7 separate regions of the Homo sapiens genome follow, and regions 2, 3, 4, 5, 6 and 7 are each linked to region 1. The links are contacts of gene promoters, found by promoter capture Hi-C in blood cells and fetal thymus (Javierre and others, 2016). All regions are on one chromosome and are shown on one strand. Each heading gives the region's core, a stretch centred on a gene start or on the middle of the fragment in contact. The rest is flanking DNA. Distances are from core to core; before and after follow the strand shown. Region 1 holds the start of COPS2 (COP9 signalosome subunit 2). Region 2 holds the start of SPPL2A (signal peptide peptidase like 2A). Region 3 overlaps GABPB1 (GA binding protein transcription factor subunit beta 1). Region 4 overlaps GABPB1 (GA binding protein transcription factor subunit beta 1). Region 5 holds the start of MIR4712 (microRNA 4712). Region 6 holds the start of SLC27A2 (solute carrier family 27 member 2). Region 7 holds the start of AP4E1 (adaptor related protein complex 4 subunit epsilon 1).

The links. Contacts are between HindIII fragments. The CHiCAGO score rates a contact against its expected background, and 5 or more counts as called.
Region 2: a contact is called between the fragment with the promoter of SPPL2A here and the fragment with the promoter of COPS2 in region 1, in 2 of 17 cell types (activated CD4 T cells and total B cells). The highest score is 6.1, in activated CD4 T cells.
Region 3: a fragment that was not itself captured here is called in contact with the fragment with the promoter of COPS2 in region 1 in 1 of 17 cell types (naive CD8 T cells); the score reaches 5.2 in naive CD8 T cells.
Region 4: a contact is called between a fragment that was not itself captured here and the fragment with the promoter of COPS2 in region 1, in 3 of 17 cell types (total B cells, M0 macrophages and naive B cells). The highest score is 7.2, in total B cells.
Region 5: a contact is called between a fragment that was not itself captured here and the fragment with the promoter of COPS2 in region 1, in 2 of 17 cell types (fetal thymus and total CD4 T cells). The highest score is 8.8, in fetal thymus.
Region 6: the fragment with the promoter of SLC27A2 here is called in contact with the fragment with the promoter of COPS2 in region 1 in 1 of 17 cell types (erythroblasts); the score reaches 5.3 in erythroblasts.
Region 7: a contact is called between the fragment with the promoter of AP4E1 here and the fragment with the promoter of COPS2 in region 1, in 3 of 17 cell types (naive CD8 T cells, total B cells and fetal thymus). The highest score is 6.3, in naive CD8 T cells.

The regions. Positions count from the first base shown.
Region 1 is chr15:49,154,131-49,156,882 of GRCh38, forward strand. COPS2 (COP9 signalosome subunit 2) reads right to left here and starts at 1,469. Exons shown (of 13, transcript NM_004236.4): 1 at 1,395-1,469. The coding sequence starts at 1,448. It also overlaps a transcript of GALK2 not described here and the pseudogene NDUFAF4P1. RefSeq lists enhancers at 1,215-1,744, 1,503-2,421. The HindIII fragment of the contact is 2,527 bases long and covers 600-2,752 here.
Region 2 is chr15:50,764,332-50,767,031 of GRCh38, forward strand. It overlaps SPPL2A (signal peptide peptidase like 2A), which reads right to left and starts at 1,375. Exons shown (of 15, transcript NM_032802.4): 1 at 1,137-1,375. The coding sequence starts at 1,202. RefSeq lists a silencer at 950-1,409. The HindIII fragment of the contact is 3,596 bases long and covers 242-2,700 here.
Region 3 is chr15:50,323,734-50,326,437 of GRCh38, forward strand. All of the region lies in intron 1 of GABPB1 (GA binding protein transcription factor subunit beta 1), which reads right to left. Among named protein-coding and RNA genes, the nearest start is that of GABPB1-AS1, 29 kb to the right of the region's middle. The HindIII fragment of the contact is 8,148 bases long and covers 1-2,704 here.
Region 4 is chr15:50,298,546-50,301,375 of GRCh38, forward strand. GABPB1 (GA binding protein transcription factor subunit beta 1) reads right to left here. Exons shown (of 9, transcript NM_016654.5): 5 at 2,712-2,823; 6 at 2,244-2,357. Among named protein-coding and RNA genes, the nearest start is that of HDC, 34 kb to the left of the region's middle. The HindIII fragment of the contact is 1,938 bases long and covers 513-2,450 here.
Region 5 is chr15:50,357,871-50,360,840 of GRCh38, forward strand. It overlaps GABPB1-AS1 (GABPB1 antisense RNA 1), which reads left to right. Exons shown (of 1, transcript NR_024490.1): 1 at 1-442. MIR4712 (microRNA 4712) reads left to right here and starts at 2,459; the gene lies at 2,459-2,540. The HindIII fragment of the contact is 6,184 bases long and covers 1-2,970 here.
Region 6 is chr15:50,180,905-50,183,815 of GRCh38, forward strand. It overlaps SLC27A2 (solute carrier family 27 member 2), which reads left to right and starts at 1,292. Exons shown (of 10, transcript NM_003645.4): 1 at 1,292-2,001. The coding sequence starts at 1,524. It also overlaps a transcript of ATP8B4 not described here. RefSeq lists silencers at 1,184-1,523, 1,794-1,893. The HindIII fragment of the contact is 4,085 bases long and covers 626-2,911 here.
Region 7 is chr15:50,907,373-50,910,243 of GRCh38, forward strand. It overlaps AP4E1 (adaptor related protein complex 4 subunit epsilon 1), which reads left to right and starts at 1,311. Exons shown (of 21, transcript NM_007347.5): 1 at 1,311-1,556. The coding sequence starts at 1,407. RefSeq lists enhancers at 904-1,645, 1,120-1,409, 1,430-1,599, 1,646-2,387. The HindIII fragment of the contact is 3,809 bases long and covers 1-1,711 here.

The sequences.
Region 1 (2,752 bases), core at 219-2,718:
CCCCCCATAAATATGTACAAAATACTATGAATCAATTAAAAAAATACAAGCACATATAAAAGAAACATTTTGATAACAAAACACCTGTAATATAAATAAACAGGTAATAAGTAAAAATGGACAGATACATATTCTTAATGAACTGAAGTCACTGCCTACAACTGGCTTGCACAAACTAAAATGTAAGGTAGAAACCATAACTATTAGCGAAACTACATTTAACTTTAAAAATTATAAAAATCTCTACTATGACTTTCAAATAATAGCGAGAATTTCCTTTCTCCCTTTTGCAAAGTGTGCCTTATTTTAAAATGCAAAAAACTGAAAATATATACGAAAAAGTTATAGACTAATTCAAAACAATGTATTAATATTTTGACAATCTCTGGCACTTAAAATGAGTCAGACGTCCCAAAACATCTATTTCGTAACTTTATGATAATGCAGCATCACCATAAAAGAACCATATGAAACACCCCCAAAATAAAGAAACACAGCAAAATTGACGTTAATTCTGGATCAAGATAATTTTCTGAGTTTCCACACGATGTTTTTGAATAGCAAACGTTATTCAAACTTGCAAATCCATTAATAAATGAAGCTTTGAATCTTTAAAAATCTCCATTCGGTCAGAAAAATTCGTTTATTTCTATGCTGTTGCTGTTTTAAACTTTGTATACTGGGAAATTTCTAAGGGAAAAGCCATGGGTTCAATTATCTTTCACCCGTCCTCCAAAAACACCACAAGCAAAACCTCCTCCCCAGCTTTTCTTTATAAAGAACTGAAAAAGTGGTTCGACTACCTTTTTTTCAGTTATCTTTGCTCTGAACTCTCCCCTACACACTTACCTCGGACCAAAACTGGCCCTGGCAAGACTATTTAAGCTATGTCTCCAGGAGACTCACAAGTTGCGTTTCGCAGTCAGGCCTGGGAGCAGTAAGGACACCCCCGTTTTCTGACTTCTCCTAGCATTTCGCACCCGCTCAGTTCCAGTGTGAAGAAGTGGGGGCCCGGAACGCTGGGCCCGAAAGGGCAAAGCCAGGGCCTACACCGCAGCATGGTCACCGAGGCGGCTAGCGCGGTGGGGAGGCAGAAGACAGAGAACCGAACGCCTGGGACCAGGGGCATCCGTGTAAACCGAAGAGGCGCTCAGACTCGGAGGGCAAGGCCCGGGGCCCCCTTCGCTGCCTCCTTTGCCCTCCCTTCCCCCATGCTGGAGAAGCAGGGCCCGGGCCCGGTGCGGGAACGGGGAGGAGGTAAACCAGTCCTGTCACCGCACTGAGAGAGGCTGTAAACGGCACATGCTCTACGGGGAGAGGCCGCGGGCGCCCCGGCCCGGACCCCGAAAACAAGACACATCACCACCCTCAGAGTTCCATTCCCTGCGCCTCACCAGGTCGTAGTCCTCCTCATCATCGCACATGAAATCATCCTCCATGTCAGACATCTTGGCCGGGAGGGGGAGGAGAAATTGGAGACAACCTCCTCCCACAATCCTCCGCGGCTCAGAGGCGTCACTCTCAGCTTCTTTCCGCCTTCCAGTCCCTCTTAGAGGAGCTGTTTCCTGCCGGAACTAATTATCTCGACTTGTAGCTGATTCGCTACGACTCCAAAAGAGACTGCACCACCCCCCGTTTCCTCCGAAGTGGTTGGTGCCTTAGCAACTAAAGCTGGCAACTGGGACATCGTCCGGTGCTGCAGGTCTCAGCCGAAGGGCGTCGGAAACTGCGCTCGCATCGAGCAGTTTCCAGCCTCCTGGGTAAAGGAGCAGTCTCCTCCCTTGCTTGGGACTCTGGACGCATCTCATTCCGGTGAAAGTAAGGGACAGCTTAGGACCAGAAGCCTTTCGCGGAGAAAAGGCTGACATGCCCGTCCTATATGACAGGTATTATTTCTGCTATCATTGTACGTGTGCATTTAGCCCACACATTGCGGTGGGTGTTCCTAAGATACTTGGAGTACTTTTCAGCAACACAGTTTACACTTAATGCTTGTTATATTTGTAGTTGACAAAACAATTCTATGGATATCCTAAATTAGGTATGCAGCTATCAGTTGAGTTGCCTTAAATCTTACTCAGTTGTTCAACGAGTTGTAAACTGACCTTTACAGCCCTTGGGACCAAATTAAGGTAACAACGACTGGTTTTTAAAAAATACATTACTGTGAACCTGAGGGCATCATGTTGTAAGGAGATGGGGGCTGCGGTGACTCGCGGGATCAGGAATTTCAAGAGAACCGAGCGGAAAGGGAAATCCGCAACATGAAGCCCTCTCTCGCTCCCAGGCACCCCTCTACCAGCAGCCTCCTGCCAGAGCAGATTAGTCTCTATCCAGAAATTAAGGGAGAGATTGCTCGTAAAGATGACAAGCTGCTGTCATTTCTAAAATATGTGTGTGTTGATTCCAAAGATCCTGTGTCTTCCGTGCAGCTGAAAGCTGCTGAAACACGTCAGGAGCCAAAGAAATTCAGATTGCCGAAAGGCCATCACTTTGATATGATAAATATTAAGAGCATTCCCAAAGGCAAAATTTCCACTGTAGAAGCATTGACACTTTTCAATAATCATAAACTTTATCCAGAAACATGAACTGCTGAGAAAATAGCGCAAGAATATCATTTAGAACAGAAAGATGTGAATTCCCTTCTTAAATATTTTGTTACTTTTGAAGTCAAAATCTTCCCTCCTGAAGACAAGAAAGCAATACAATCAAAATGAAGAAAATCACAAAAATTTCCTATGTGTACTCC
Region 2 (2,700 bases), core at 125-2,624, 1.6 Mb after region 1:
TTTGTTGCTCTTTTTATATCGAACTCCCCTCCCCCAGCAATTTTTAGATACATTCTCTCAGGTTCCTGATGTTGCCTGTCAAAGTTATGAATACACCAAAAGGCACTTACTTTTTGGCTTAGATTTTGGTTTTTCAATAAATATTAAAGACACTTTTGTATTCACTAATACTAACCCCTTAAACTGGAGAGTCAGCAAAACAGTCTTTCAAAGAAATCACACATTCTAATAGAACGAAACAAGCTTACACGACACCAATTCTGTAATAAATAACATGCGTAAGTTTCCAACCTGAAACTCCCTAAGTAAAAGTCACTAGAAACAAAAACTGAAACACCGGGTTCCTGACACCCCACTCCCACACTGAAGCTCGAATTACTTGAGGCTGAATTTTAAAACACTATTACTTCTCTGTGACTATGAAAACAAATCTATGAACACATATTTCTTACTTACATTTAACCGACGCTCCCCACCCATCCCTTTAAATTAGGCAGAAAACTGAAAACCACTAAAAGCATTACATTTTGGTGTCTTCTTTTAAAAGTTATTTTAAATTACTGCTATTAAAACCCCCCCTCCAAAAAAAAAAAACCCTCATAACAGAATCAAATGAGCCCTAAGGCGAAGCAGGAGCTACAGTGGGGGAAGGGAATTTTAAAAAGACATCCGTGTTAGTGCAATTAAAGTGCAGTCCTCGAACCGCTAAACATACTGGCGCCTTGTATAATTTTTTTTTCTTCCCAAGGGTAAAAAGCGGTAAGAAAGGCTTAGACAATAAAACCCAGAGGTCAATTTTAAATATGCTGGGACAGTGAGCAACTATCGAGAAGCATCAAGGTCAACGCAACCTAAGGGGCTCCTCTGATCTTTTTGCGGTAGGTATTTCGCCAGACTTCAATGGGCGGGAACCGAGTGGGGGGCGGGAAAGTTGGGGGAAAGAGGGTGGAAAAGAGGAGGGTGGAAGGAAAGAGATGAGTAATGGAAAGAGGAGGGGAGGAAAGAGGAGTGCGAGAGCAGGCCGCGGAGGTGCGGGCAGAGGGGAGGCCGGGCGAGGAGTAGGGGAAGGGAGCCCCGGCCTTGGCCCCGGCCCCGCCCAGCCCCTGGGAGGCCTGCGCGCCTTCCCGCCCCCTTACCAGCTGGAGCAGGAAGCCCCAGAGTAGGGCGGCCCCGGCAGGGGACAGCCGCCGCTGCGGCCCCATCGGACTGGTGGGTGCCGGGTGGGACGGCACGGTGCGGCGCAGCTCACTCGGCGGGGTAGGCTCGGAGTCCCGCCGCTGCGCTGCCTCCGTGGCCGGACCGGACCGGACAGGCGCGGGCGGCCGGGCTACGACTGGACCGCCGCTGCTACAGCGGCCGCCACAGCAGCGCGACTTCCTCTTCCGGCCCCGCCCGTAAGATGCGGAAACCCCCGCGCCGGGCTCGGAGAGTCCCAGCGCTCTCCCGGTATCCAGGCGTCCCGGCGTCCCGGCGCTACGAGGCCACCGGCTGCGGGTCTGAGCCTGTCGCTTTCCGGCTGCCCGACTTTAACTCACACCGAAGCCTGGCGGGAGAACGGATTTCTCAAGGCTCGGAAGTGTCTGAGCGTCTGCTCGGTTCCCCAGTAACTACCCGAGTGTTGCATGCAGCCAGAAATCTAAGGGTCACCCTAATTCATCTGCCTGTCATTTGTTCCTGGCCACTCTGACTCACCACATAACCCAGATCCATCCACTTTCTCCAGAACTGCTGCCACCACTCTATCCAGGCCACCAACTTCCCTCTCCTCCAAACGGGTCTCAGTTTCCCCTCCGGACAGCCCAGTAGCCACATAACAGTCCCAGAGCCATCTTTCAAAACATATAAGTCAGATCATGTCTCTCTCTATCACACTTGGAATAAAATAAAAACTTGGCCGGGTGTGATGGCTCACACCTGTAATACCAGCATTTGGATGGCCGAGGTGGGCGGATCACAAGGTCAAGAAATCGAGACCATCCTGGCCAACATGGTGGAACCAAGTCTGTACTAAAAATACAAAAAATTAGCTGGGCGTGGTGGCACGCACCTGTCGTCCCAGCTACTCGGGAGGCGGAGGCAGTAGAATCGCTTGAACCGGGTAGGCGGAGGTTGCAGTGAGCCGAGATTGTGCCACTGCACTCCAACCTGGGCGACAGAGCGAGACTCGGTCTCCAAAAAAAAAAAAAAAAAAAAATCAAAACTCTACTCTAGCCTGCAAAGGTAAATCTGGCCCCTGCCTTCCTGTCTCCCCATCTTCACTACTTTCCCACACTTTAAGGCGCACGGACCTTTGGCCCTCCCGGCCTTTGCTCTGGTGGGCCGCCCGGACTTTGCTCTGGTAGTCCTCCCTGCTGGAGTGCTCTTCTCTCCAAAGCTCAGAATGCCTGCCTTGTTGACATTCACTTATCAGCTTCAATGTCGCTTCCCCAGACGGGACTTCCTGACATACCCAATCTAAAGTACCTGTCCAGTCACTTTCTTTTCTTTTCCTTTCTCTTTTTTTTTTTTTTTTTTTTTTGAGACGGAGTTTCGCTTTTCTTGCCCAGGCCGGAGTGCGATGGTGCAATCTCGGCACACTGCAACCTCCGCCTCCCAGGTTCAAGCAATTCTCCTGCCTCAGCCTCCCCAGTAGCTGGGATTACAGGCGCGTGCCACCACACCCGGCTAATTTTGTATTTTTAGTAGAGACGGGGTTTCACC
Region 3 (2,704 bases), core at 20-2,519, 1.2 Mb after region 1:
TGTCTTCCTGTAGTCCCAGCTACAGCTACTCAGGAGGCTGGGGCGGGAGGATCGCTTAAGCCCAGAAGTTTGAGGCTTCAGTGAGCCATGACTGTGCCACTGCACTCCAGCCTGGGCAACAGAGTCAGATCCTGTCATTAATTAATTAATTCATAAATAAATAAATAAAATTTAAATTTAAAAAAATGGCTGGGTGTGGTGCTCATGCCTGTAATCCTAGCACTTTGGGAAGCCAAGATGGGTGGATTGCTCGAACCCTGGAGTTGGAGACCTGCCTAGGCAACATGGCAAAACTCTATCTCTACAAAAAATACATAAAAATTAGCTGGGCGGGTGGCACACACCTGTGGTCCCAGCTACTCAGAAGGCTGAGATGGGAGGATCACCTGAGCCCAGCGAGGTCAAGGCTGCAGTGAGCTGTGATTGCACCACTGCATTCCAGTCTAGACTACAGAATAAGACCTCATCTCAAAAAAAAAAAAAATTTTTTTTAATGAGTTCATTGATGGCAAGCGCCAGGCCAACAGTAAGTGCTCAATAAATCTGAGTTACTATTGTCTCCCACTGTTAACGACCTGCATTCGTTGAGTGCTGTGTGACCAAGCACCATCTCCCTACACACAGTCCTAGAGAGGGGCTGTACTGCCTATACTCACTTTACAGATGGGAAAACCAAGGTTTGGAAAAGTCACCTGACCAAGGTCCCAAAGCTAGTAGGTGAGAAATTCAGCCTCAAAGGTGGGCTCCCCTGGCTTTGAAGCCCCTCCAGTGATCCAATGCCCTGAATGCTCCCAATGTCTCCGTGGCTTTTTTTTTTTTTTTTTTTTTTGAGACAGAGTCTCACTCTGTCGCCCAGGCTGGAGTGCAGTGGGGCAATCTCGGCTCACTGCAACCTCCGCCTCCCGAGTTCAAGCAATTCCCCTGCCTCAGCCTCCCAAGTAGCTCGGATTACAGGCGCATGCCACCACGCCCAGCTAATTTTTTTGTATTTTTAGTAGAGATGGGGTTTCACCATGTTGGCTAGACTGGTCTCAAACTCCTGACCTCAGGCAATTCGCCCGCCTTGGCCTCCCAAAGTGCTAGGATTACAGGTGTGAGCCACCCCGCCTGGCCTCTGTAGTTCTTTCTATGGGCACAAGTTAAGGTTATAGTACTTGCTGTTAAGAAAATAAAGGAGGTTAGCTAGACCCAAGAATCTCTGGCTCCTTGGGGAGACTGTGGGATTATGAGTAGGTTGTTTCTTGTCTCCACTTTTTAGAGGGCTGGCCCCACCAGACATGCATAGCTCCCTGAAAATACCATGCCCAAGGAAGGTGTTCAGTAATGTGTGTTCCTTTCTGACTCTAAATGTCAGGTCCTTTCTAAGTAAATTTTGTGATTTAAAAAAGGTGAAGTCAGTACAGGATGAAATGTGCTTTGAGAGTGTCAGGATGAAATTGTTTCCATGAGGAAGAGGGACAAGTGTACCCCATGGTAAGTGGGCCTAGATCAAGACTTGGCCTCCAATAGTCAGTAACTACAAACTGGACAAATAATATTTTGAGGGCACTAAGGCAATATGATGTTATGCCAAAAAAAAAAAAAAAAAAGGCACGGCTAAAAGCCAGAAGTTGAGACCCCACCTCTGCCACAGATCAGCTGTGTGACCCAGGTGCAAATCTCGTCACTCCCTGTCTGGTTCTGTTTCTGCTGATGTAGAATGGAGCAATCAATGACAAAAAAAAAAAATCATCATCATCTGTGGTTCACTATATTTCTACTGGAGAGAGCTGTTCTAGAATCACTGGTCAAACTTTTTTTTTTGTTTTTTTTTCTTGAGATGGAGTCTCGCTCTGTCGCCCAAGCTGGAGTGCAGTGGCACGATCTTGGCTCACTGCAAGCTCCGCCTCCGGGGTTCACACCATTCTCCTGCCTCAGCCTCCTGAGTAGCTGGGATTACAGGTGCACACCAGCACGCCCAGCTAATTTTTTGTATTTTTAGTAGAGATGGGGTATCACCCTGTTAGCCAGGATGGTCTCGATCTCCTAACCTCGTGATCTGCCTGCCTCGGCCTCCCAAAGTGCTGGGATTACAGGCGTGAGCCACTGCGCCCGGCCTGGTCAAACTTCTTGAAGCCACTAACTTCAGAATATGCAAGAAGTCATAACATTTTAAAATAAGATATAAGGGTTTTTTTTGTTTTTTTTTTTTTAAGACAGAGTCTGGCTCTGTCGCCCAGGCTGGAGTGCAATGGCACGATCTCAGCTCACTGCAACCTCTGCCTCCCAGGTTCAAGCGATTCTCCTGCCTCAGCCTCTCAAGTAGCTGGGAATATAGGCGCCCACCACCACGCCCAGCTAATTTTGTATTTTTAGTAGAGGCAGCGTTTCACCATGTTGGCCAGGCTAGTCTCGAACCCCTGACATCAGGTGATCCACCCACCTCGGCCTCCCAAAGTGCCAAAAGGCATGAGCCACCATGCCTAGCCAAGTGGATTCTTTTAGAAAAACTTCATCTAGGCCAGACATGGTGGTTCATGCCCATAATCCCAGCATTTTGGAAAGCCAAGGTGGGAAGATCGTTCAAGCCCAGGAGTTTGAGACCAGACTGAACAACATGGTGAAACCCTAATCTCTCCAAAAATTTTTAAAAATTAGCCAAGAGCCAGGTATGGTGGCTCACGCCTGTAATCCCAGCACTTTGGGAGGCTGAGGTGGGTGGATC
Region 4 (2,830 bases), core at 232-2,731, 1.1 Mb after region 1:
TAACTGCTAATGGCCAAAAGTGATTCATACAAATCTTAAGACTCCCAAATATAAAGGCTTGGATTCAAACTTAGATTATAATGCTACAGAAGCTAAAGAATGGATAAATGTTATTTTCAAAAAGAGGCTGGGCACAGTGGCTCATGCCTGTAATCCTAGCACCTTGGGAGGCCGAGGAAGGCAGATCACTGAGGTGAGGAGTTCGAGACCAGCTTGGCCAACATGGTGAAACCCCGTCCCTACTAAAAATACAAAAAATAGCTGGGTGTGGTGGTGCATGCCTGTAATCCCAGCTACTGGGGAGGCTGAGGCAGGAGAACTGCTTGAACCTGGGAGATGGAGGCTGCAGTGAGCCAAAACTGTACCACTGTACTCCAGCCTGTGTGACAAAATGAGACTCCATGTCAAAAAAAAAAAAAAAGAAAGAGAAAAGAAAAGAAAAAGAGAAAAGAAAAAGGTAGCATTCCCCCAACTCCTCCAAGTCAAGAATATTACAGTAATATCCACCTTAAAGCTTTCTGGTGAGGAATAAATGAGATTATAAGTAAAATATTTATCACAGTGCCTAGCAGAGAGAGTAAGCATTTGATGAAATGTTGTTATTATTGATCAAATTTTGAAAAAACACTAATTTAAAAAATGAATGACAAATTATTCTTTGCTTTTATAAGCACTGAACCAAATATAATGGCTTAAGCTACAGAAAAATATTTTCTTGGAATTTAAAAAATTTCCTAATTAAATTTTACCGACATAATAATTACATCAAGAAGTATTTTGGTTAAGTATAAAGGTAAATCTTGTATAAACCAAATGTTCATGAATACTGTTTGTCATCATTTAACAACAGGTAACCCTTTCATTTCTTTTTGAGACAGAGTTTTGCTCTTGTTGCCCAGGCTGGAGTGCAATGGCGTGATCTCGGCTCACCGCAACCTCCACCTCCCGGGTTCAAGCCATTCTCCTGCCTCAGCCTCCCGAGTAGCTGGGATTACAGGCATGGGCCACTACGCCTGGCTAATTTTGTATTTTTAGCAGAGACGGGATTTCTCCATATTGGTCAGGCTGGTCTCGAACTCCTGACCTCAGGTGATCCACCCGCCTCAGCCTCCCAAAGTGCTGGGCTTACAGGAGCAAGCCACCGCACCCAGCCAGGTAACCCTTTAACAGTGGTTTCTGTATACTATTTCCTAGTTCTATCAGTCATTAAGATTTTATAACACTCTAGTAGAGCTGCTAAAAATTAAAATTTATGAAAAAAGTGTTTTTTGGTTTTGGGTTTTTTTTTTGAGGCAGGGTCTCATTCAGTCGCCTAGGCTGGAATGCAGTGGCATGATCTTGGCTCATGGCAACCTCTGCCTCCCAGGTTCAAGCGATCCTCTGACCTCAGCCTCCTGAGCAGCTGGGACCACAGGAGTGGACCACCACACCTGACTAATTTTTATATTTTTTGGTAGAGATAGGGTTTCACCATGTTGCCCAGGGTTCTGGGCTCAAGCAATCCACCTATCTTGGCCTCTCAAAGTGTTAGGATTACAGGTGTGAGCTACCATGCCCAGCCAAAGTGAGTTGTTTAAACAAAAAGTCACAAACTAGTAAATCAAGAGCCAAATTAGAGACAGGGACATTTTTTTCTGTGAGCCACACAAGTTTTGTTTTTCAATTAGTTACCAAGATTTAATGTTCTTTTAAAATCCAGATTCACAGCTTCCTATTAAAAAACAGAATTTGGGAATACTGGACTGATGACTATAATCAGCTAGAGTTGAGTCACAGATGCCTCCCTGCCCTTGCCCCATTCTTCAGCCGGGTGTAATCTCAATCCTGCCCACTTTAGCCTTTTATTGTCTTCCTGGCCTTTGTAAATATTTGAATCTGCAACTGTTTTTGGTTTTTTTTTTTTTTTTTTTTTTTTGAGACAGAGTCTTGCTCTATCACCCAGGCTGGAGTGCAGTGGCACAAACTCAGCTCACTGCAGCCTTCACCTCCCGGGTTCAAGCAATCCTCCTGCCTCAGCCTCCCGAGTAGCTGGGATTACAGGCCATGTGCCACCACGCCTGGCTAATTTTCTGTATTTTTAGTAGAAACAGAGTTTCACTATGTTGTCCAGGCTGGTCTCAAACTCCTGAGCTCAGGCAATCCACCCGCCTCGCCCTCCCAAAGTGCTAGGATTACAGGTGTGAGCCACGGCACCCAGCCTGAATCTGCAATTTTAATGTACACATTAGACTCGTTTTTCTAACCTGGAGTTTCTGAAGAATTGGACAATGGAGCAGATGCTTCAGCTAAGGCAGCTAATGTAGCTAATACTGATGTAGAAGAGTTTCCAAACTGAACAGCAGATACACCCGTTTCATCTGTAAGAAAAAAGAAAATAGATTTGAATTTCTAAGGAGCTTAATCCAATGCATATTTCTGATATTCTATTTATCTTACTGACTCTTAAACAAAGCTTGGATAGCATTAGCTTTTGAAAGGTAATACTGCAGTAAATTTTGTAATATCACCTTTCTTCAGATTGTTTTGTCTCATAAAAATCTTTTTGCCAGTTATACCAAAGAAAACAAAGGTGGCTGATAGAATCTTACCCTCATTCTCCAACCGTCCTTTCTTACAAGGATGAATACCTACTAAAGCATAAAATCCCAAAGCCTATCCTATATGCATCTCAATACCTGTTGCCTTGGATGAATTTTCTGAAGATACCAGACCTGTTAGGTTCACCACCCCTCCAGGTCCAATGATAAACTGTGGTGTTGCAGCATGTATTGTCACAGTGTCAGGACTCTCTGGGTTTGTGTTGATTTGGTTCTGCATAGCAATCTAGGGA
Region 5 (2,970 bases), core at 184-2,683, 1.2 Mb after region 1:
TTGTTGTGTTTAGGGAATAGCAAGGTCAGTGTATCCGAAATCTAGTGACCAAAAGAAGGAATGATAGGAGGTGAAGTCTTCAGCCTCAATAAGAAGGTGAAGTGCACTGGAAGCCATTGAAGGATTTAAGAAATGGAGTATCTGGCCGGGCGCGGTGGCTCACGCCTGTAATCCCAGCACTTTGGGAGGCCGAGGTGGGAGGATCAAGAGGTCAGGAGATGGAGACCATCCTGGCTAACATGGTGAAACCCCGTCTCTATTCAAAATAAAAAATTTTTTTAAAAATTAGCCAGGCGTGGTGGCGGGCGCCTGTAGTCCCAGCTACTCGGGAGGCTGAGGCAGGATAATGGCGTGAACCCAGGAGGCAGGGCTTGCAGTGAGCCGAGATCGTGCCACTGCACTCCAGCCTGGGCGACAGAGCGAGACTCCGTCTCAAAAAAAAAAAAAAAAAAAAAAGAAATGGAGTATCATGGACTAGGATAGTAGCAGTAGAGATGAGGGAAGTGGATGGATCCAAAAAGCTGACCTATCTTGCTTACCAATTAAATGAGGAAAGGGAGGAATCAATAGTGATGCCTAGGTTTGGGGCATGTTGTCTAGGTGGAATTAATTTTAATTACACTTTTAACCCCTAGCATATCCAAATATTATTTCACATGTGATCAACATAAAAAATTACTAAATATTAAAAATATTTTACATTATCTTTCTCATAACTAAGCATTTGAAATCTGGTGTGTATTTTATACTTATAGCATATCTCAGTACTTGATTTCATAAAATTTCCAGCTGAAAAAATAGATTCACGTACCCAAGTCGTTCCAAGCATACTTAAAAGTTTTACGGTAATCGAATCGTGTATATTTTTAAATTTTATTTTAAATTAAAGTTAGGATTATGAATTCAGTTCCTAAATTAGCCTCATTTCACTTCTGCATTTCAAGTGGGACAAGTTATTACCATATTGGACAATGCAGTCTAGTGAAGTAGAGGATAGTGGAAAGTCAGACTTAAAAAGTTGTTTAGAACCAGCTCTGGAAGGCCTTGGATGTCAGATTAAAGGACTGAGATTTTACCCTTGAGTCAGGCAGAATAATGGATGGTTTTTGAACTAAGGAGTGACACAAGGTTGTGCTTATGACTAGAAGGAGGCCACTAGGTGGCCAGCTGGTGAGTCAGGACACCCTTCAGTTGCTTTGACTTCAGCCCTGTGGATTCAAAGTCTGATTTTTGTCAGCGCTCTAGAGCAGTCTCACCAAAAGTGTGGTCCACAAGGCAGTGCCAGTCTGTAAGCCCTTTGTTACACATCCATGTCAAGGCATTTACAGAAAGTAAGAATTTAGAAACTTATAGCAGTTTAACAGACTAATTTTATTTCTGTGGGTCTAATAAAAATTTGAGGGATTGTACTTTGCATATTCTTTATTTCCCTTTTTTTGTTTGTTTTTTGTGTTCGAGATGGGAGTCTTTTTCTGTCGCCAGGCTGGAGTGCAGTGGTGCAGTCTCGGCTCACTGCAACCTCTGCCTCCTGGGTTCAAGCGATTCTCCTGCCTCAGCCTCCCAAATAGCTGGGATTACAGGTGTGCACCACCACATCCAGCTAATTTTTGTATTTTCAGTAGAGACGGGGTTTCACCATGTTGGCCAGGATGGTCTTCATTGCCTGACCTTGTGATCCGCCTGCCTCAGCCTCCCAAAGTGCTGGGATTACAGGCGTAAGCCACCGTGCCCGGCCCTTTTTTCCTTTTTAGTTTATTTTTTTCTTTTTTGAGACAGAGTTTCGCTCTTATTGCCCAGGCTGGAGTGCAATGGTGCGATCTTGGCTCACCGCAACCTCTGCCTCCTGAGTTGAAGCGATACTCCTACCTCAGCCTCCCAAGTAGCTGGGATTACAAGCATGCACCACCATACCCTGCTAATTTTGTATTTTTAGTAGAGACGGGTTTCTCCATGTTGGTCAGGCTGGTCTCGAACTCCCAACCTCAGGTGATCTACCTGCCTTGGCCTCCCAAAGCGCTGGGATTACAGGTGTGAGCCACTGCACCCGGCCGTTTTTTTCTTTTTCTAATAATTTTTATCATATTACATAAAAGTACCTATGGTCTCACAGATGAAGGGAGTCAGAAGAACCAAACTCCCAGAAGACATATAAATCTAAATGCCTTTTTTACTTTAGAGTGAAAACTGTAATAGCTAAATTATAATGGACATCTGCTCATTTTCTCCCTCCATGTAGACATGGAAAGCTACACGGAAATAACCGAGTTTATAGTAGCTACCATATATTAAACGTTTCCTGTATGCCAGCCACTGTGCAAAGCATATTATATATATTGTCTCATTTAATCCTCACAACTCTGTAAAATAAGTATTGTTTGCCCCATTTTTCCAATGAAGAAACCGAGGCTAAAATAGGTTGAATAACTTACCTAAATTCACCATCCTCAAAGGTGTTAAAGACAGGATTCCAGTACAGGTCTCTCATTTCCTTCATGATTAGGAATACTACTTTGAAATGAGAGACCTGTACTGTATCTGTTAATTCCAAATTCCCTGGCATAAAGACTCAGTACATTGTTTAAAGAGAATGCATGAAGTTAACTGCATTACCTTTTGGAGGGTTCATTTGTGAATTTGGGGCCAAAGTAAGGGGAGTTACTGGTATTCTAATAGCATCAAACAAATGAATTCATTTCATCTTTTGGGGAGGTGGAGGGAATAAGGTCTCACCTTGTCGCCCATGCAGGCTGGAAGGCCGTGATGTGATCTCAGCTCACTGCAGCCTCAACCTGGGCTCAAGCGATCCTCCCACCTCAGCCTCCTGAGTAGCTGGGACTACAGGTGCACACCACCACGCCCAGCTCATTTTTGTATGTTTTGTAGAGACTGTGTTTTGCCACGTTGCCCAGGCTATTCTCAAACTCCTGAGCTCAAGTGATCCTCCCACCTCAGCCTCCCAAAGTGCTGGGA
Region 6 (2,911 bases), core at 42-2,541, 1.0 Mb after region 1:
GTTTTACACACACCGAAAAAAAAAGAGGACATGGACAGAAACCTAGAGAATAGGAGGACAGCATAGTATAGTTACTAAGAATAAGCTAAGAGTTGGTTCCCCGGGACCAAACAGATACCATTTCCAAAACCCACGAATTACTTACCGGCTGTCTCAATTCACCTAAGCTTCCCTTTCTTGTCTGTAAATGAGCATGAAAGTGCCACCTGTATAAAATAACTCAGGCTCCCAAAATGTAACATAGGGAAGCTCCTAGCAGCGTGTCTGGGAGGAATAAGCATTATCTGTATTTATCGTATCAAATTAAGATAGAGGAACACAGGAGGACAGTAGAGGATGAAAATAAAACACTACTTAGATCCTGACCCTCCTCAGTGGCAAGTAGTGAGCATTCACTTCGTACAGAAGTAGCACTAAGGCAAATTAAAAGAAAGGTTCACATTTCCTCTAAAAGAAATGGTTTTTGAGTCATGCCAATACCACTTACTCAATGTCCTCTGTACTATACTATTCTCTGACAGAGCCACTTATTAAATGTGTGAACTGTGCTGACAACACTTGACAACTTTCAACATGAGGGAACAGCAGGATCACTTAACAGAACAAAATCGTAAAATAATGTCAAAGCTTGATTTCAGGTGGTGCGGTGTAGCACTGCTCTTCACGAAATCAGGACTCCCCCGACCAGGCAGGGCCGACTAGGTTAGAGTGTCCTGCCCTCACTCACCTGGCAGGGCTTGGGATGAGCTGGACGTGACTGCCACAGGCATTTCTGTTCAACCTTGAAGCCTTCGCTACAGGAGACCGCCTGGCAGTCGGGCTGGGAAGCAAATCTGAGAAACAAAGAGAGACCAGGCGGAAAGCCCTTGGGACCAGGAAGGAGAGATGAGATTCTGGTTTGGCAGTGGCACCTGGTACCCGCTATTAATAAATAATAGGACTGTCTGACATTTATAAGGCACTTTATCGGTAATAACAGTGTCATCTCCATAAGCCATTCTATTAGTGGTAACAAATAATAGCCCCACGCCTGCAATATCTCCTTTAATATTCCCAACGTCCGCTAAGCGCGTCTCATCACCATTTAAAGAAACCGTGGCTCCTAGAGGTAAAGTACTTCGGTCACAACGCGAGGAGGTCCAGACTTGACCCCAGACCTCCAGACTCGAGCTGGGAAGTGGCCGAGGCTCCTGGTGAGCCGCAGGGCAGCCTGCCCAGCCCCGGGAGGACCGCGTGGGAGGGCCGGGAGAGCAGGTGGCTGCCCCCCACAAGGGGGCGGGCTCAGCCGGCCAGTCCTGCCCGGAACCCCCGGCAACGCGCATACGACTACACCTGCTCCGGAGCCCGCGGCGGTACCTGCAGCGGAGGAGCTCTGTCTTCCCCTTCATCTCACGCGAGCCCGGCGTCCCGCCGCGTGCGCCCCGGCGCAGCCCGCCAGTCCGCCCGGAGCCCGCCCAGTCGCCGCGCTGCACGCCCGGGGTGAACCCTCTGCCCTCGCTGGGACAGAGGGCCCCGCAGCCGTCATGCTTTCCGCCATCTACACAGTCCTGGCGGGACTGCTGTTCCTGCCGCTCCTGGTGAACCTCTGCTGCCCATACTTCTTCCAGGACATAGGCTACTTCTTGAAGGTGGCCGCCGTGGGCCGGAGGGTGCGCAGCTACGGGAAGCGGCGGCCGGCGCGCACCATCCTGCGGGCGTTCCTGGAGAAAGCGCGCCAGACGCCACACAAGCCTTTTCTGCTCTTCCGCGACGAGACTCTCACCTACGCGCAGGTGGACCGGCGCAGCAATCAAGTGGCCCGGGCGCTGCACGACCACCTCGGCCTGCGCCAGGGAGACTGCGTGGCGCTCCTTATGGGTAACGAGCCGGCCTACGTGTGGCTGTGGCTGGGGCTGGTGAAGCTGGGCTGTGCCATGGCGTGCCTCAATTACAACATCCGCGCGAAGTCCCTGCTGCACTGCTTCCAGTGCTGCGGGGCGAAGGTGCTGCTGGTGTCGCCAGGTGAGCCCCGAGGATCGCCCTGCCCTGGCACCAGGGCTTCTCGGCGCCTTGACTGACGAGCCACAGCGTGGCATAAGGGGTTCGCAGAGGGAGGTTCAGATCGGAACTGTAGGTATAGAAAAAGGTTGGCAGTGTTTCCTTGAATCGCAAATAATGATCTTTTAGGACCACCTGTTGTGGAAGCTGATAATGTGCTAGGTTCTGTGTTAAGCACTCTACAGGCAGTGTGGTTTTTAATCCTCACAATGGGTAGGCTTTGTTATAGGACTTTTATAGATGAGACCACTGAGGTCCTGAGAGGTGAAGCCTCATGCCCAGCCATCTATCTCCAAATTCCAAGCTCTTAATCAATACTTATAACATCTGCATTAAAATGCAGAGGATCTTGAGTGCGAACTCTAGTGGATCCAGAGGGGCTCTTCTCACCTCTGCTGCTTGACTGGCTGTGTGATCATGGGAAAGTCACTTCTCCTCTCTGTCCCTTGGTTTGCTCCTCTCTAATGAGGCAGGCTTCAATGTTGCTTCCAGCTCTCAACTGCTGTTAGCATCCTGTCCCCTCCCTGCAGAACAAAGGTGACCCCACCTGATCCCCAGGGAGAAGATACTGGGGATCTGCTACAGGACCGTTGTGAGCCCCCACTGCATCTATCACAATAGTGACCCTTTCAGTTCTGTGGTTAGCTCCTGCCACATTTCAGCCAGACTTGAAACAGTAACTTAAGTGATGACAAGGTCAGGAAGTGACAGAGAACCTGTTACTCACAGGGCTGATGGCTTTCCCCTCCCAGAGAGCTTGTCTCTGCACTTGAATAAGGACCAAGGGTTCCTTCTCTCAGTCAGTAAGAAGAGGCCTACACAGGAGTGGGCTGAAAGACCTGGGTGACAGGGTAGGGGTCGAGGGAGCCGAGGA
Region 7 (2,871 bases), core at 61-2,560, 1.8 Mb after region 1:
CTTGTGAGAGTTTGGGGATTTTCCCTTCTGCTCTCGTACCTCTTTGCTGCAAAATTTTCTAACCAGGAGCCTCGGATGTGGTTTGTACACTATGGGCTGGTTTGTTCTATTTATTTAGCAAGTTTGTTCCCCTTGAAGGGAGGCTATCACCACCTACCTAACCTACCTCCTAGAAACACACTAGGAGTACTGAGAGCAAATTGCATTAATCTCTGAAAACGCACGTATTTATGCCCTAAACCTACTACCTTAGAAAATTCTAGAAAACACAAGGATACTCCAGGATACATTTTACCAGCTAGTCAATCGTCATCTAGCCGCTTGAAAACTCTGTACATTTCCAACAGAATGAGGGTAAAAACGGCAAATAACACGTAAGAAACGTTATCAATGTTGTTTTGACTTTGTGAATTCCCTAGAAGGGTCTCAGCGACCCTGAGGTCACCAGACCACATTTCGAGAGCCATTGTACCAGACTCTGTTCTAGATAAAAGACGGAGCAATCGGAATGAATAAAATACTCTCTCTATGGGGAGCTGTTTACGTAGTGGCAACTGCGACCTGTTCTAAAGTGGAACAGAACCGAGCGCTGTGAGAGGGTGGGACTTGGAGACCTATCCTTGCCCGCCGGGCCAGGGGAGTGGGCTCTAGAAGGATGACCTTTCAACTGCGACCTGCTGAGGAGGAGTCGGCAAGGGTGGCCGCCGACCAGTTCTCTTTCCCGCCCACCTCCCCAAATCCCAGGAGAAGAGGGGCGGACGGGAAGCGACAGTGGCCGCGAGTCCCCGGCACGCGACGGGCTCTCAACCTGGCACGCCGAATCCTCAGGACAGCCCCGCTATCACGCAACTACTCGGGTGTCCCAAGAGTCGCCAGGGCCGGAGCCGCGCGCGGCGCCGGGGACCCGCGTGAAACCGCCTGTGGGAAGCGGGCGGGTGGCGCGCGCTCCGGGGACAGTGAGAGGCGGCGGACGGCGCGGGGACGTCCCGAAAAAGGCGCAGCCAGGAAGACGCAACTCCTGACGCGGTCTCGGGCTACGCGGAGGCGGCTAGTGGGAAAGGGGGACTCTGGGAGACAGTGCCTAACAGGGCCAGGCCCCCGACGGCTTCCTCAGGAGGACTCACGGTTCTGGGGGATTCCGGAACCGCTACCCCGTCGCGAGAAAGGAGGTCTACTTACGCGCGCAATCTCGAGCGAGCGGCCTTTTCCACCCCCGCGGTCTCTTGCGCCCTCTGGTGGCCTCTCGCGAGAACGACGCTGAACTTGTTCAGGTGGGACGCCAATAAAGATTTCTTATTCAAAAAACAGGAAGTGCCTACGGAGGCCGGGCCGGCAGCGGCGGCCGGGCATGAAGCCGGGCGGCTACGGGATCGCGGGCGGCGGCGGCATCGCGGGCGGCGGCGGCGATGAGCGACATAGTGGAGAAGACGCTGACGGCGCTGCCGGGACTCTTTCTGCAGAACCAGCCCGGTGGTGGGCCCGCGGCCGCCAAGGCGTCCTTCTCCTCGAGGCTGGGCAGCCTTGTCCGCGGCATCACAGCCCTCACCTCCAAGCACGTAGGTGCCCGCCGGCCCGGGAGCTCAGGGACATCGGAGTGAGGCCCCCGCGCCAGGAGGCCCTGGCCGGGCGGCGAGACTTCAGGGCCTCTGGGGTTAGCCCTCCGGCGGGGCTCAGGGGCTGCTGTGTCGGTTCGTCCTTTCGTCTGCCTGGAAGCTTCACTTTCCTGCTGGGACTGACAGCAGGGAAGCCGAGTTTCCACAGTTAGTTCTGACACTGACTCTTTGATCGGGGGCACATCTCTGTAACCTCTGAGCCTCCGTGTGTTTTCTCAACGTTGTGGTGGAAAAGTACTGATACATAATTCATAGGTTTTTTGTTTGTTTTGAGGATTGGGTGAGATGTCAAGCGTGTGAAAATACCTAGTGCGATGGAAGTGTCAGACATTATTTACCTTCCACAAAGTTTTTTTTCCCTACTCAGTTTCCTTCTCTCCCCCGGTGCCTTCAACTGAACAACAGTTCAGATGTCGCATACCTGAAGAGATCCTGTGAGCCTCTTGTTGAATATCTTTGGGGAGCTTGAGGTTCTTGGGTTACAACAACGTGTTGGGCAAAGAAAAAGCACAGTTCTCTCAAAATGTAAAATTTGCTAAGTCTCTGCCTCAAGTGGGCTTTGAAAATGAGCAGTTATAAAAATTCTTAAACTTTTAAAATTTTTAAATTTTTATTGACGGAGTCTCTCTCTGTCGCCCAGGCTGGAGTGCAATGGTGCGATCTCGATCTCGGCTCGCTGGAGCCTTAAGGTTTTAAAAATTTTAATTTTTGTTTTTTTTTGAGACGGAGTCTCGCTCTGTCGCGCAGGCTGGAGTGCAGTGGCGCGATCTGGGCTCACTACAAGCTCCGCCTTCCGGGTTCACGCCATTCTCCTGCCTCAGCTTCCCGAGTAGCTGGGACTACAAGTGCCCGCCACTGCCTGGCTAATTTTTTGTACTTTTCGTAGAGACGGGGTTTCACCGTGTTAGCGAGGATGGTCTCGATCTCCTGACCTCGCGATCCGCCCGCCTTGGCGTCCCAAAGTGTTGGGATTACGTGCGTGAGCTACCCTGCCCGGCCTTAAAATTTTTAAATTTTTAATGACGGAGTCTCGCTCTGTCGCCCAGGCTGGAGTGCGATGGTGCGATCTTGGCTCACTGGAGCGTCTGCCTCCCGGGTTCAAGCGATTCTCCTGCCTCAGCCTCCCAAGTAGCTGGGATTATAGGCGTATGCCACTACGCCCGGCTAATTTTTGTATTTTTAGTAGAGACAGGATTTCACCATGTTGGGCAGGCTGGTCTTGAACTGACCTCAAGTGTTCGCTCACTTCGGCCTCCCA